Linked DNA regions of Homo sapiens: region 2 is linked to region 1. Evidence: promoter capture Hi-C in 16 types of primary human blood cells and fetal thymus (Javierre and others, 2016). All regions are on one chromosome and are shown on one strand. Each heading gives the region's core, a stretch centred on a gene start or on the middle of the fragment in contact. The rest is flanking DNA. Distances are from core to core; before and after follow the strand shown.

What was found. Contacts are between HindIII fragments. The CHiCAGO score rates a contact against its expected background, and 5 or more counts as called.
Region 2: a fragment that was not itself captured here is called in contact with the fragment with the promoter of BTF3 in region 1 in 1 of 17 cell types (activated CD4 T cells); the score reaches 5.1 in activated CD4 T cells.

What each region holds. Positions count from the first base shown.
Region 1 is chr5:73,496,759-73,500,218 of GRCh38, forward strand. BTF3 (basic transcription factor 3) reads left to right here and starts at 1,684. Exons shown (of 6, transcript NM_001037637.2): 1 at 1,684-2,041; 2 at 2,376-2,444. The coding sequence starts at 1,910. It overlaps BTF3-DT (BTF3 divergent transcript), which reads right to left and starts at 1,562. Exons shown (of 1, transcript NR_186388.1): 1 at 795-1,562. RefSeq lists enhancers at 1,519-1,578, 1,609-1,908, 1,672-2,482 and a silencer at 2,119-2,168. The HindIII fragment of the contact is 2,385 bases long and covers 855-3,239 here.
Region 2 is chr5:77,031,100-77,034,559 of GRCh38, forward strand. It overlaps AGGF1 (angiogenic factor with G-patch and FHA domains 1), which reads left to right. Exons shown (of 14, transcript NM_018046.5): 2 at 3,319-3,421. Among named protein-coding and RNA genes, the nearest start is that of AGGF1, 2.4 kb to the left of the region's middle. RefSeq lists an enhancer at 1-122. The HindIII fragment of the contact is 711 bases long and covers 1,856-2,566 here.

The sequences.
Region 1 (3,460 bases), core at 434-2,933:
TGAGACTGAAGGATCCTTTGAGCGCAGGAGTTTGAGCCCAGCCTAAGCAACAAAGTGAGACCCCATCTCTTTTAATTTTTTTAAAGTTTTATATTTTTTAAAAAAATTATAAAAATAAAATTAGCAGCATCCCTGGTTTCAAAAAGTAGAAATAAATAAATAAATAAAAGTAGCTCACAATATTTCCTGAAAACAGGTGTATTAAAAGGGCAGAGGAGAGGGAAGGCAAAGAAAAAGAAAAAAAAGGTGGCAGGTTACATACATACAATCTTGTCTCTATAAAAGCTCAGAAAACATCACGTGACTAGGAAGTTTCAAATGCCTCCAATATAACATGGAGGAGAGGAAAAAAACTGTTCCTGGACAAAGATACACATTTCTTCCAAAAGGGGGAGTCTTTCTATATATTTTGTAATATCTCCAGAGCACAGCATAATGTTGGTACTGCCATTTTGGCCTTTGTCATTAGGAAGGTAACCCACATAAGCCTAACTACAAACACCCTTACCTGTACTAAAACTTCACTCATATTTAACTGAAGCAACATTGTTTTTTGTAAATATAACTGTAACAATTATTCTAAAAGGCAATACAGCTGTCCTCACCAGTTATGTTCTTGAGACATCAGTTGCAACAAACTTATATGTAAAAAGTATTCAAAAAGTTTAAACATTGATCTTAACTGGAGAGGGGTCTGCACTTGAACAAGTTTTCTTGCTACACACATTGCATTCTAAGATTTCGGACTCACTTTTGAATATGCAAAGACATTTCATGGTTAAGACCACAAAAAGGCTGATCAGAGAACATTTTTATTTAAATTGCCATTTTAAATATCAGTCGTTTTATCTTAAAGCTTGTCCTGGGTTTAACAAAGTTTAACTCACATCCACGCGTTGTCTCTCCAAACACAGCAGGCAGAAATTCTCCTTTGATTGGATTAAGATAGATAAAGTCTGCTTAACCGTGAATCGCTAATTGTCAAATCCATGCCAATTCGGTACCTAGGAGTCAATTTTTTTGCCTGATAAACAAGATAATTGTGTGGACCGTTTTAAGGTGGTTAGTCATCTGCTAAATTGGCTGAAATGCGGATTACCCAGTTCCTTCGTCGTACAGAGTTGCATTCTGAGGAGTGGGGCTCGGGGATACAGCCCCCAGAAATTCTGAACCTCGGTCCCGCAATCTACCACACCACCTAACCTTGGAAGGCCAAACTAACTTCACTATTTTTGACAAAATGCTTTGGTAATGGCTCATTCGGGCCGAGAGGGAAATTCTGCAATTCTCCAACCCACACCTCCAGCAAGGGGAGAGCTGCTTGAGTGGTGAGCACAAGCTGGGCACCTCCGGCGTCTCCAGGAAACGTGAATAGGCCCTTTCTTCGGAGGGCACAGAACTTCAGGATCAGGGCCCAATGGAGACTGAGCGGACTTAACCCTAACTGTGCACAGGACCGCGCTCTCCGACCCCTTTGTGGCCTCTCCCAGAGGTACGGGCTGCGCCCCAAGCCAGCAGTCTCTCGTAGGGCCTACAGCCGGCAGCCGCTGGAGCAGGAGGAGGAGAATAGGGACTCGCTGGACCATCACAAACGCTGTCGCGCGTGCGCAGGGAGGAACCGAGTTCGCGGCGAAGTCAGTTTCCTGACTCTTGAAGGAAGTGGCCTTGTGTCACTTCCGGCCTCCCTTTAGCTGCCATCTTGCGTCCCCGCGTGTGTGCGCCTAATCTCAGGTGGTCCACCCGAGACCCCTTGAGCACCAACCCTAGTCCCCCGCGCGGCCCCTTATTCGCTCCGACAAGGTACAAAAAGGCTCTGGACGGCGGCGTGGTAGGAGGACGGGAGCGGGGGCGGGAAGTTCCCTGAAGGAGCGAGACAGGGAGGGACAGGGCAGAGGAGGAGAGGAAGGCGATGCGACGGACAGGCGCACCCGCTCAGGCTGACTCTCGGGGGCGAGGTCGAGCCAGGGGCGGCTGCCCTGGGGGCGAGGCGACGCTGTCTCAACCTCCACCTCGCGGCGGAACCCGAGGACAGGAGCCTCAGGTACCGCGAGGCTTGCGGAGAGTGGCCGGGCCGGGCAGGCCCTGGCTAGGCCGAGGCCAGGCCAGGGCCAGGGGTGGGGGGTGCTGGCCAGGCGTGGGGTAGAGCCTTTCATCCGGGCCTGCCAAGAGCGGGGAGCTGTGGGGGAGTGGTGGGGAGGCGGGTGCTCTTTGGGCTCCCTGGAAACCCAAATTTGGAGCTTTGCGGGGTGGATTTGGGATCCAGGTTTCGGCCTGTGTAGGACGTTTATTTTCCTGCTGGTATCTTGGGAAATAACGAGCATGGAATGCTAGAGTGAGCTAAACCTATCCTTGCTGAGGATTTCCTCTTTTTCTAGATGAAAGAAACAATCATGAACCAGGAAAAACTCGCCAAACTGCAGGCACAAGTGCGCATTGGTGGGAAAGTAAGTTTTAATAGTTCGGGTTTGTGGGTTTTTTTTTTAAGGTTTAGGTATTTTAAAAAACATATTCCTTTTGCGCTTCTTATATTATCGGTGACAAACTTTGCCTATCGAGGGAAATTCACGGAGCTAGCAAATCTCGAGGAGCGGGGGAGACGAGGGTTGGAGACACATCAGTGAGACGAGCTAAAAACATCGCCTTTGTGTAAACATGTTTGTGTTTTCAGTGTTACAGAGTGTAAGTAGAACACAAAAGTGTTTCCTAATTTAATTAGTAAGGAAAATGTGTCATTTCAGTTAGATCGTTGTGCACATCATACCCTTGACTTGTTTTGGCCTGAGTTTTCTAAAGTCAGTGCTTGTTTGTCTCTCTTGTAAATTGAGACCTTTCTGTACTGCTTTCTGAACTAAATATTCTTTAGGGTAGTTGCATATTTCAAGGGTATTTGAAGATACGGGTACATTTTGGAGTTTAAGAGCAGTGACTATTAGATTTGAAAATATAACCCAAGTAGGTATCTTTCCTGTTCTGACTTTGTATTACTGTAAAAATGAGGGAATTAAAGTGACTGATTTTTAAATGATCAGTTTTTGATTAATTGTTTTTTTCCTGGTGGATACTGATTCACATCAAGGGGATTCTTTTTTGAAGCTGATTTTTAGATTGTCCTGTAATTAATAAGAAGTCCACTGTAGACAGAGGTCTACCTAGTTTGTATTGTTAGCACATTCTTAGTATTTAACAAGGTGTGGTAGCTTGTTGAAACAGAGCATGTCTTTACTTGGTAAAACTTGTAAAGCTTCCATGGTACATGTTTATTACCTTTTAGTTTTTCCCAACTTTAAGCGTTTAACTTAGAGTTAGCTGTGAGATAGCCAGAAGTTGCACTTAGACTTAAATAATAATATACAGCTTTGTTAAATTACTGAACTTTGCCAGCGGTGAATTTATCCTGATTTTTTTTTACTTTTTATTTTTGTTAACGTTAGCCATCTTCAGGATCCACACCCACACATTT
Region 2 (3,460 bases), core at 961-3,460, 3.5 Mb after region 1:
AGTAGAAGCTCAGCGCAGTTACAATTCCAAGTACCTTAGGAGCAAACCTGAGTTCAGGTTACTTGATTTAAATCAATGTCTCGCGGCTGGCGTGAATTGAACTTAAGTACTGTGGCTACATTGTCTTCATTCTCACTTGACCTAACATCCCATTGGCAGTAGGCGCATTTACTGTAGATCACATTTGAGTTTATTAAAATGCTGGACTTGAGTCAGAATCCCATCTCTGCTATTCACTGGGTGTGTGAACTTATATACCGAGTCTCAGTTCCCCATTAAATGAGAATGATAGCTCACAGTAGTAAAGGTGAAGTAAAACAAACAATTTTACAAACTTTTGAATGCTATACCTGTTTAAGGTTGCTCTTCTGGGCGTTTATCATCTTCGGCTTTCTTGTGTAAGTAGGGACGATATATAACTGCTTTTGTTGGAGACGTTAAGCAGCTTATTTCGTTTCCAAGATGGTAGGGGCAAATGTTAATACTTAAACTGTCACATTAAAAACAACCTTGGCTGGACGCGGTAGCTCACGCCTGTAATCCCAGCACTTTGGGAGGCCGAGGCGGGCAGATCACCAGGTCAGGAGTTCGAGAGCAGTCTGGCCAGCATGGTGAAATACAAAATTTAGCCGGGCGTCTCTACTAAATACAAAAATTAGCCGGGCGTGGCGGCGGGCACCTGGAATCGCAGCTAGTCGGGAGGCTGAGGCAGGAGAATTGCTTGAACCTAGGTGGTGGAGGTTGCAGTGAGCCGAGATCGTGCCACTGCACTCCAGCCAGGGCGACAGAGTGCAACTCTGTCTCAAAATAAAAACCAAAAAACCAAGAGCATAGTATTTTTTTCTACCTTGTTGGCAGGCCCTCTCTGCCAACAGATTATTTCCACATAGTAACTAGTTTCAATTTGACCGTTGTCTAGTCCTTCATAATTTATTGGTGGTTTCCTAAAACCAGTATATAGGCTGAACACTGAAACGTCATCAGACTTCTTTGTTTTGTTACCAAATGGACTATGAAAATAACTGTTGAGTTGCAATGACTTTGTATGACCATTACATGGAGTTCCTGACATGACATTATTGGAAAGTTTTTGTTTAGTCAATTTAAACACCTACGGTGTGTAATAACTATGCTAGGAAAATACAAATATGGTAAAAAAAAAAAAAAAAAAAAAACAGGGAGAGGTGGCTGGGCGCGGTGGCTCACGCCTGTAATCCTAGCACTTTGGGAGGCCGAGGCGGGCGAATCACGAGGTCAGAAGATCGAGACCATCCTGGCTAACACAGTAAAACCCTGTCTCTAGTAAAAATACAAAAAAAATTAGCCGAGCGTGGTGGCGGGCGCCTGTAGTCCCAGCTACAGGCTGAGGCAGGAGAATGGCGTGAACCCGGGAGGCGGAGCTTGCAGTGAGCCGAGATTGCGCCACTGCACTCCAGCCTGGGCGACAAAGCAAGACTCCGTCTCAAAAAAAAAAAAAAAAAAAAAAATGGGGAGACGGGAGCAAAATATAACAGCCTTTTTTACATGACAGCCTTTTGAAAAGCTCCTTTATAATTCTAAATTGTTGAAGTACTGCTTGCGTTAGAGATTCTAAAAGAAAACGTTTTTTGCTAATCTTCAGAGAGCCAGCATTTTGGTGTTACTGTTAATTTGATAAATCAGACTAAATGATGGGACTTTGTGAACAGATCCTTTATTTCTTACAGAAAAGAATGTTTTTATGCTAATATTTTGAGAGGTCAGCAATTCTCCCTAAAGAATTAGAAAATTTAAGAGCTATCAATTCCCATTCATGTTATCTAATATCATTCAATGTTCACGTGGATTTAGTTATTAAATGTTAATGCCTCTTATAAGCTTTAATACACTTTAAAAAAATAGTAGTTCTGTGACTAAACTGCAGCAGAAGCGAACAGAAGGTAATTGCCTGAGAGGATCATCTGTCCTCCACATGCCTCCATTTTAGTCCAATATTAAAAATTTAATCTCATAGAAAGTCTTGACTCTACTTTGAATAGTGATAACTCCTTACTCTCCTAGTCAGCCTCCCTTGGTTGGGGAGAGGGTGGATTCGATTAACTGTCATTCCAAATTACTGAATGTGTTTTATTTGGAGCAGTTAAAAAGTTTTGCTTGAGAATGATAACTGGAGAACCATAATATGTATAGGGTTTGTACAAGACCCCAAAATAGCCTTGTGCAAATTACTTTGTCTTGTCTGATATTTTATGTGTAAAATTGGGGTTAGGACAACGAATATTTCAGGTGGTTTTGTGAATTAATGAGATGTTATCTAAAGCATCAAGTATAGTGCCCAGCATGTAGTAGATACTAAGTAATCTAATTCATAGTGATAGGGACAGTAGCCAGAGCCAGGATTTAGGGCAAGGCAATCAGGCTCCTAGGGCGAGGAATTTAATGGGGCACTAATTCCCAGCGATGAACTCTGTACTTGCATGAATCAGAGGAGCGCCTCAGATTTTTCACGATCAGTGTCTTGCTTCCCTCACTGTAGTTCCTGCCCTAGTATTAGCAACAGATCAGTTTTATCACCTTTCTCTGTTTAAGCTTTATGTATCATTAAATAAATATTTAAAAGCTTGTTTTTTAGTTGGTTTCTTGTGTGTAGTAGACATTGTCTCACATTGAGGTCCTCTCAGGCTGAGGTGTATTGACTGAGGCAGCGTATTGACCGAGGCAGCATGTTACTTGCTTTTGGGCACTTCCACACACTTGTTTCTCTCTGTCCTATGTAGTAGCATCCTTTTAAGGGTATTTTAGTGTGTGAAGTACATGGAGGACAGATGCCCCTCTCAGGCCGTCACCTTCCCTGTTCTCTTCTGCTACAGTTACTTAATTATAGGACTACTGTTTAATGAAAAAATGTATTAAAGCTTGTAAGTGGCATTAACATATTCAGGTGGATAGTTAATTCCCAGTGGAGAATACCAAATGAGTATTAGATAATCCAGTAGGGATGAGAATTTGTAAATTTTGAATTTTTGAATTCTTTAGAACTGACTTTAAAATGTTAACATAAAAGCATTCTTATTTGTTAGAAATAAAGGACCTTGTTCACAAAGTCTCATTATTTAGTTCGATTTTTGGAGGAGATATTTGGACATTTAGTAAGAGAGATTAGGAATAAAAATGCCTTTTAAATGTATAAAGTAAAATAATAATTTTAGCTTTTCTGAAAGGGAAACTTGCTGCTCTTGACATTTCTCTAAAACAATTATTTGTAACGGTAGGAGACTGGTATATATATTATTAGATTGTTACATGATTTCTTTTTCCTAAAGCCTTGTTTTCTCTCAGGTGGAAGAACTCAGTAAAATACTCCAACGTGGGAGAAATGAAGATAATAAAAAGTCTGATGTAGAAGTACAAACAGAGAACCATGCTCCTTGGTCAATCTCAGGTATTTAGCTTATAGTGAGGATATGCTAACACTGTTACA